Linked DNA regions of Homo sapiens: all the other regions are linked to region 1. Evidence: promoter capture Hi-C in 16 types of primary human blood cells and fetal thymus (Javierre and others, 2016). All regions are on one chromosome and are shown on one strand. Each heading gives the region's core, a stretch centred on a gene start or on the middle of the fragment in contact. The rest is flanking DNA. Distances are from core to core; before and after follow the strand shown. Region 1 holds the start of GDPD4 (glycerophosphodiester phosphodiesterase domain containing 4). Region 2 has its middle 8.7 kb from the start of PAK1. Region 3 has its middle 48 kb from the start of LINC03030.

What was found. The method cuts DNA at HindIII sites, captures the fragments that hold promoters and counts their contacts. A CHiCAGO score of 5 or more calls a contact.
Region 2: a contact is called between a fragment that was not itself captured here and the fragment with the promoter of GDPD4 in region 1, in 1 of 17 cell types (endothelial precursors). The highest score is 5.1, in endothelial precursors.
Region 3: a contact is called between a fragment that was not itself captured here and the fragment with the promoter of GDPD4 in region 1, in 1 of 17 cell types (M2 macrophages). The highest score is 5.5, in M2 macrophages.

The regions. Positions count from the first base shown.
Region 1 is chr11:77,300,251-77,303,221 of GRCh38, forward strand. It overlaps GDPD4 (glycerophosphodiester phosphodiesterase domain containing 4), which reads right to left and starts at 1,436. Exons shown (of 17, transcript NM_182833.3): 1 at 1,355-1,436. The HindIII fragment of the contact is 12,830 bases long and covers 1-2,971 here.
Region 2 is chr11:77,481,310-77,484,335 of GRCh38, forward strand. It overlaps a transcript of PAK1 not described here. Among named protein-coding and RNA genes, the nearest start is that of PAK1, 8.7 kb to the left of the region's middle. The HindIII fragment of the contact is 1,878 bases long and covers 523-2,400 here.
Region 3 is chr11:77,521,485-77,524,624 of GRCh38, forward strand. It overlaps a transcript of PAK1 not described here. Among named protein-coding and RNA genes, the nearest start is that of LINC03030, 48 kb to the right of the region's middle. The HindIII fragment of the contact is 3,525 bases long and covers 1-3,140 here.

The sequences.
Region 1 (2,971 bases), core at 186-2,685:
TAACACTAGCCAATAGGGGAACGACACAGCAGCAGGGGCCACGTGTGTCAGGAATAAGAACCCCTTCCCCTCCCTTGTCCAAGTGTGTGCTCACCATTGCTCCATATGTAAGGGTGCACCCTTCTATAGAAGTATATTGCCTTGCTAAGAATTAAAAAGAAAATTTTATATTTGAGTGCTATTTCTTTTGCGGCACCGAAACTATAACAGTACCCAATCACCTAGTCTCTAAGGGAGAAATGGACAAATGCATAATCATGGTAGGAGATTTAACACACCTCTTAAAAAAAAAACAGAATAAGCAGAAAAAAAGTCTGTAAGGATATAGACGACTGTAAAAGTTGATTAACTAGTCTTAACATTTATAGAACACTGTACTCAACAAATGCAGAGTGTACTTTAAAATGGACATGGAATATTTATCAAAAATCACAATTGGTTTTAATAAACCTTGACATCTTAAGAATATATCTTCTGACTACAGTGCAATTTAACTGGAAATCAGTAAGAAAAACAAATTGCACATTTGGGAATTAAACACACAGAAACCTACGCATGGTCAAAGAAAAATCACAATGGAAATGAGAAAAAAACTTTCAGTTGGTTAATGATGAAACTACTGCATATATATAGAACTTGGTGTGACTAATTGCAAATACTGGGGTGTCCAAGGGCAGACGTTATGAACAAAAAGCTCTATGGGAGGATGGTAAGCTGCTTGGATATCGAATAAAAGGCAGCTTTTTAACCAGAATAATTACCACCACCATTGTCTACACACCTGCAGATACTTTGTGTCTAAGCACCAGCCAGCGTAGCCACGTTTACATGAAAATTCCTAATATTTAAGGGGAGATCGAGAAACACTGTTTCCTTCCCAGAGCTCTTCTCTGAATTCTACACTCATATATCCGACAGGCTACTGAAATCTCCATTTGGATTTCTCACAGGCACCTCAAAAGTAATATGTCCAAAACTGAACCCCTGATGTTTTTTCCCTCTAAAATCGATTCCTCCTGCAATCTGTCCCATCTCAGTAAAGGTCACCGCCATTCCCCAGCTCATGAGATCAAAACCCAAGGGTTGCCGCCCAGGATTGGCATAGTCGAAGCTGATTTTTATCCCCTTCGCCATTAACAACTAGAAAACTAGAAAATACACGAAGCCGCTACTGTCAGATACTGAACAGGAGGTCCAGGCCCGTAATCCTCGAGAGGGGACACAAACGACCCGACAGAGTGAGCGAACAACGTCAAAGGGCCTCAAGTTTGGCCGCCGACTAATAATACTAATAGAACTTCCTGCTTCTGGTGCTGCTTAGGGAGGAAGCACGGAACTGGGCACATTTACTTACCGAGACTTCCCAGTCCCAACCCAAATCCAATCTTCACGCCTGAGGAGACCAGCGTCTCTTAAGATGGACGCCTGGCTGGAAGGGCAGCCCGAGGGAGGCGGGGCGGGAGGGGGCGGCCTGGCGGGGCTGTGGGCGTGGTCAAGGACACCCCGTGCCAGAGCAAGGCTGAAGCTAAGGCCAGACCCCCAGCCTTGGCTCAGAGCCCCACCTTTTAAATGTCCGGTAAGGTATGCTCTCTTTGTTTTTGGTTTGGTTTGGTTCTTACAAAAAGAACTTGACTGTTTAAGTTTAGTCCTTGTTAATAACTTAGTTCAAGCATTACCAATTTTTTGTATCCCAGTTATTCATAAAATTGCCATATATATATATACATCTATCTATATATTTATATATTTTTTAAGAGACGGGGTCTTGTCGCCCAGTCTGGGCCTCAAACTTGGGCTCAAGCAGCCTCCTGCCTCAGCCTGAAGAGTAGCTGGGACTACAGCCCTGTGCCCCCCAGCCACCACGCCCAGGCTACCTCTTTATTTTATTTTATTTTTAACTATTTTTTCTGCCTTTTTAAAACAAATTTTTAATTTTTATGGGTACATAATAAGTGTATTATTTATACAACTCATAGTAGGAATACATGAGATATTCTGATAAAGGTATACAATGTGTAAGAATCACATCAGGAGGCCAGGCACAGTGGCTCACGCCTGTAATCCCAGCAGTTTGGGAGGCCGAGGCAGGTGGATCACCTGAGGTCAGGAGTTCGAGACCAGCCAGGCCAACATGATGAAACCCTGTCTCTACTAAAATACAAAAAAATTAGCCGGGCACAGTGGTGGATTCCTGTAATCCCAGCTACTCAGGAGGCTGAGGCAGGAGAATCACTTGAACCTGGGAGGCAGAGGTTGTAGTGAGCCGAGATAGCACCACTGCACTCCAACCTGGGCAACAAGAGTGAAACTCCATCTAAAAAAAAAAAAGAATCACATCAGGTACACTGAGTATCCATCACCTAAGCATTTATCATTTCTTTGGGTTATGAACGTTCCAGTTACACTCTTAGTTATTTTTAAAAATGTTCAATAAATAATTGCTGACTGTAGTCGCCTTGTTGTGCTGTCAAATATTAGATCCTATTTATTCTAACTATATATCTGTTGTACCCAGTAACCATCCCCACTTTGCCTTACCTTTTTTAAACCAGTTTCAACCACTCAAAGGGCCACAAATGGGCCTGTTTTCGCTTTTGTTTGTTTAATCTTTGATTCCTCTAGCCATTTCTCTGACTCTGACCTCGTTCCTGAGCTCTAGACCTTTATCTCCAACTGCCAGCCACTGGCCTTCAATCTGGCCGTCCTGCTGCAGACACCTCAAACTCAGTAAACCCTAACTTAAATTCATTATCTTTCCCTTCATGTCTGCTCCATCTTCTATGGCTCTAAATCACTAAATGACAAGATGTGAAACAGATGTCTCATCCTCAACTCCTCCTATTCCTTTGCAACCCCCCAACCCTCCACCTTACACAGAGTGACCAAATTCTGCTTATTAGGATACTTCCTATTTCGCCTAGTCATTATCTTATTGCATTTCAATGCCCACTAGGCCCTAATCATCTCAGTA
Region 2 (3,026 bases), core at 212-2,711, 180 kb after region 1:
TTTTTCCCTTTTTGATTTATGTGGTGATTCTCTGTTGTTAGGCCTGTGATTTGGGTGATTTGTGTCTTTTAACATTGTATCTTTAGGCCAGGCACGGTGGCTCATGCCTGTAATCCCAGCACTTTGGGAGGCCGAGGCGGGCGGATCACGAGGTCAATAGGTCGAGACCATCCTGGCCAACAAGGTGAAACCCCATCTCTACTAAAAATACAAAAATTAGCCAGGTGTGGTAGCATGTGCCTGTAGTCCCAGGTACTCAGGAGGCTGAGGCAGGAGAATTGCTTGAACCCGGGAGGCAGAGGTTGCAGTGAGCCGAGATTGTGCCACTGCACTCCAGCCTGGTGACAGAGGGAGACTCCATCTCAAAAAAAAAAAAAAAAAAAATTACGTCTTTTCTGAGTAGCACAATTGCTAGATTCTATTTTTATGCAATGATAGTTTTTGGATTTGTATAGGTGAGCTTAATCTGTTTCACTATATTGTGTCTTCCTGTATTAGAACATGTCTCTCCAGGAAAATGTAAGCTTCTTGAGTGTGGGGAGTTTGTTTTACTCGCTACTATATCTCTAGAGCTTGGAACAGTGCTGTACTTATTAGGTACTAAATAAATATCTATTCCTTGTTAATAGTGATTATTGCTATGTTCATTTCTATTATCTTGAATGTTTTCTTTTTACCGTTTTGCTTCTTTTTTTTTGAGATGGAGTCTCGCTCTGTTGCCCAGGCTGGAGTGTAGTGGCACGATCTTGGCTCACTGCAAGCTCCGCCTCCCGGGTTCAAGCAATTCTCCTGTCTCAGCCTCCTGAGTAGCTGGGATTACAGGCACACCCCACCACGCCCAGTTAATTTTTGTATTTTTAATAGAGATGGGGTTTCATCATATTGGTCAGGCTGGTCTCGAACTCCTGACCTCAGGTAATCCGCCAGCCTCAGCTTCCCAAAGTGCTGGGATTACTGGCGTGAGCCACCACGCCCGGCCTATTTTGCTTCTTTATTGTTCTTTTCTGTATTCTGTTGGATTGATAACGTTTTCTTGGCTTCCCTCTGCCCCACTGATGCCTTAGAAGATAAAAATTGTCTTTCTATTCTTTTAATGATTATCCTTAAAAAAGATATATATAAATTTAGCTATAAACTTCCATAAATTATCAGTGTCTCCATCCTCCTCCAAAGTAAGATGAAACCTTCAATATACTTTAACACTCACTGATCATTCCTCTTGAATTCCTTTTAATTAGTTTTTGTGCATGTCTAAAAATGATTTTATTTTTCCCTCACTCTTTTTTTCTTTTTTTTTTTTTTGAGACAGGGTCTTACTCTGTCACCCAGGCTGGAGTGCAGTGGCATGATCTCGTCTCACTGCAGCCTCGACCTCCTGAGCTCAAGCAATCCTCCCACCTCAGCCTTCAGCCTGCTGAGTAGCTGGGATGACAGGCACTCGCCACCCTGCTCAGCTAATTTTTGAGTGTTTCTTTTTGTAAAGGCAGGATCTCCCTCTGTTGCCCAGCTGGTCTTGAACTCCTAGGCACAAGCGATCCTCCCGACTTCAGACTCCCAAAGTGCTAAGATTACAGGCATGAGCCACCACACCCAGCTTTTCCCTCACTCTTGAATGATAGGTAATCACCTGTAATCCCAGCATTTTGGGAGGCCAAGGCAGGTGGATCACCTGAGGTCAGGAGTTCAAGACCAGACTGGCCAATAGGGTGAAACCTTGTCTCTACTAAAAATACAAAAATTAGCTGGGCATGGTGGTGGGCACCTGTAATCCCAGCTACTCAGGAGGCTGAGGCAGGAGAATCGCTTGAACCTAAGAGGCGGAGGTTGCAGTGAGCCAAGATTGTGCCATTGCACTCCAGCCTTGGTGACAAGAGTGAGACTCCATCTCAAAAAAAAAAAAAAAAGAATAGTCTCTGTGGCCTGAAAGAGTGGAGAAAGTAGGAAAGAGTATAACCAGCTGGTTGAAACAACCTCATCAGATAACGGCATGTTCGTAATCCATGGACAGAAATAAAACTCAGACCAAGTCACTGAAAAGGAATAGACATGCTGGGAAATGGGATGAGGAAAGTGAGGAGGATTATAGGGCTCTTTAAAAATTTAGCACACCAGTCTATCAACAGACATTTATCAAAACTCTACTTTGCTACATATTGAATGATTCCATTTACATGAAATTTCTTTAAAAAGGAAAATCTATAAAGACAGAGCACAGATCAGTTGTTGTTTGGGGGTAAGAGCAGTGATTGACTACAAACAGGTACAAGGAAACTTTGTGGGGTATTGGAAATGTTCTAAAATTGCATTGCAGTGATCTTCACACAACTGCATAGATTTATTAAAAATCACTGTGCACTTAAATTGGGCAAATTTTCTGGTATGTAAATTATACCTCAATAAAGCTTAAAAATGCTATTGCATGGCTAGCCATATGGAAGGTGCTAATGTGTGAGTAATGAGAACTAACTATAACATCCTAAGAATGGAACTGAAGGGGTTACAGCAATTCGTGGAGATGAAAATTTAGTAAAGTAGACATGTCTATTTTTGCCTCCATTTTCATATTTCTTTCTAAAGAACTTAGTTTGACAATACCTATAGAATGGCAGAGCTTTACGTTACACAAAGTCCCATCCTTCTGGCTGAATGGACCAGGGATGAGCATCTGATTCAGGTTAGATCAATCAGATTCTCTCTTTCTCTGGAATTTGGAATTAGGAAATGAAAAATAGAGCCAGCCATATGGTACCAAGTGCTTTATTAGAAAGGCAATGTAGAATGGGAGTGTAGGGTGCCATAGCAAACTGAAGGCTTTATTTAGTAAGCATTAGTATAGAGAAAACCATAAGTCCTATAACATTAGTATAGAGAAAAACCATGAGTAAGCCAAAAAAAAAAAAGTTATCCATAAAAAAAAAAAAAGGAAAGCTGAGAAGATGAACAGAGATAAGTAGAGATCAGAGACAAGGTGGGCCCACAAGAGAAAACCAGAGTGGCTTCAACAATCAGCTGCTCCATGTCAGTCC
Region 3 (3,140 bases), core at 244-2,743, 220 kb after region 1:
TGCCATTGCACTCCAGCCTGGGCAACAAAACCGAAACTCCACCTCAAAAAAAAAAAAATGTGTCAGGAGGCGGGTGGTGCATGTACTCCTTATCATAAACCGAATGTTAAGGTGCAGCTGTGGAATTGAGTCCTCCTCCAACAAGGGAAAGAAAAGGATGTCTTGTGACACACCCAGATAGCTAGTGGTGATAGTTATGCTTGCCAAGATTTGGGTGCATGGGGCTTGGCTTGGTTAGCTCCCTTGATCTTACTTTCCCAAAAAGGAAACCTCCAGGGCATCCTATTTATTCCCATCACCTGGCAGGATTTGCAGGATAATTGCTCAGAACTAGAATATTGATCCGGATTTCTACATTACCCATCCCTTTTGTTCTTTCTGAGCTGCAGCCAGAGATTGCTGGATGGTTCACAGGAATAAGCAGGGTTAGCCGAAAATGTAGGCAAAAACTTAAAAACACCTAATGAGTCTAGAATCTAATGACGATGAGATTTGAAACATAATTTCACTCTCTAGTCCTCATTTTCATTAAAAACAAATTATGATAGGATTGCATTGTTTGCAAAATAGACTTTAGTCTTATACTTGGTCAGATTATTTGCATAAAGTGCAGCAAGAATAATTATTTCTACATAGACCTTTTAGATTGGCTTTAATGGAACTCTGTTCCACAAGGAATCTCAGATAAGACCTTTTAAAGCCAGGCCAGCGATGGGTTTGTATCCTCAAATACCTGCAAGTTGAATAAACTTCTCTTTTCTTGAGGTCCCAAGAACATGTGGTTCCTGGGCCTGCTGGAAAGTAACATTCTTTACTCACCACAGGTTAGGAATCCTGCATGGGGACTGTGTAGACAAGGGTGTGAGATCAGGTTTCCCAAGGAGCTTTTCTTAGTTCTGCAAGTTGAGCTTGACTCCTTAAAGGGAAGCACATACCCTTCCAGTCAAAGCCTTAGTAAGACAACCAGTTTCTCCAATTGCATCCTGTTGTGAACATCACTAATCATTGGAGAAATGCAGATCAAAACCACAATGAGATACCATCTCACACCAGTCAGAATGGCTATTACCAAAAAGTCAAAAAATAAAAGATGTTGAGGCTGCAGAGAAAAGGAAATGCTTATACACTGTGTTAGTGGGAATGTAAATTTATTCAGCCACTGTGGAAAACAATTTGGAGATTTCTCAAAGAACTAAAAATAGAACTCTCATTTGACCCAGAAATCCTATCACTGGACATATATCCAAAGGAAAATTAATTATTCTACCAAAAAAACACATGCACTCATATGTTCATCATAGCACTGTCCACAATAGCAAAGACATGAAATCAACCTAGGTGCCCATCAATGGTGGATTAGATAAAGAAAATGCCATACATATACACTATGGAATATGACACAGCCATAAAAAATTACAAAATCATGTTCTCTGCAGCAGCACACATGGAGCTGGAGGCCATTATCCTAAGCCAATTAATGCAGAATGGAAAGTCAAACACCACATGTTCTCACTTACAAGTGGGAGCGAAACACTGGGTACACATGGACATAAAGATGGGAACAATAGACACTTCAGGCTACTAGACAGCTGAGAGAGGGAAAGGGGCAAGGGTGGAAAAACTACTTGTTGGGTACTATGCTCACTACCTGGGTGATGGGGTCAGTTATACCCCAAACCTCAGCATCACGCAATATATCCATGGAATAAACGTGCACATGTACCCCTGAATCTAAAATAATAGTTGAAAAATTTTTTAAAAGGTTCTTATCCTTAAGAGATACATACTAAAATATATAATATCTCAGATTTATGTCAAAATAATGCAGTGGTCAAGGAGAGGGAAGGATATAAATAAAACAATTTTTGGCTAAGAGTTGTTAATTATTGAAGCTGGATGATGGGCACATGAGGGTTTATCATTCTATGCTTTCTACTTTTTTTTTTTTTTTTTGAGACAAAGCCTCACTCTGTTGCCTAGGCTGGAGTGCAGTGACGCGATCTCAGCTCACCACAACCTCCACCTCCCAGATTCAAGCGATTTTCCTGCCTCAGCCTCCCGAGTAGCTGGGACTACAGGCACACGCCACCATGTCTGGCTAATTTTTGTATTTTTAGTAGAGACGGGGTTTCACTATGTTGGCCAGGCTGGTCTCAAACTCCTGACCTCGTGATCCTCCCGCCTTGACCTCCCAAAGTGCTGGGATTACAGGCATAAGCCACCACACCCGGCCTCTTCATACTTTTAAAATATGCATTAATATATATGCATTTTTCCATAATAAAAAGTTTTTCAAAATGAGAATTTAAAAAATATAATGACAGTGAAGTGGCAATGGAAGTGTTAAATTTTTCAATCTGGTGAAGCTCCAGTTTCTCAGTGTCACGTTTGGACCAGATCACGGCCTTGTGTAATCTGGCTGCACCTTGCCAGTGTCTGTGGACATCAACAACAGCAAATCTTTACTGAGATCCTTCTGTGTGTCAAGTCCAATCAGAGAGAAAGGTTCTTTTACAGCAATAGAGAGACACAGAGAGATGTGCAATGTACTGGTAATAAAAATAGGAGAATGAAATCATTGTTCCCACAGAAAGGCCCCAATGAGTCTTCCAAAATAAACGCATATTATTTATGTAATTTTTCAAATACACCTTTATCAAGAAAAGAATAAAACATCGTTGGATCATGGCATATTGCTGTTTAAAATGATCCATTAATGTTCTAATTGTCATCAGGACAAAGGCCCATAACCATGCCTGCCTCATGTCTGGACTTTTCCTCCTTCCCCAGCTCCATCTCCTGCCCATCCCAACATACTTTAAATTTCAGCCACAGGAAGGGACTTACAGTTCCCAGAACATGCCCCCTGGAGTGTGCACTCCACTGGGGTAGTTTCATCCATTCAACTGCATTCATCCATCTCCTAGCATGCCTCATGCCACGTGCATGCCATGCTCGCTCTCTTCCCTACCTGGACCGCCTTTCTCCCTCACCAGTTTCATTCTTCAAGTTTCATCTTACATGCCATCTTCTTTGAGAAACTTTCTTTGAGCAAGCTGAGCAAGCCTGCCCTCTTCTGTGTTCTCTGTGTAGGGGAGGGTTGGAGGAGAGAAGGGCACACATCTTATTTCTCCCACTAA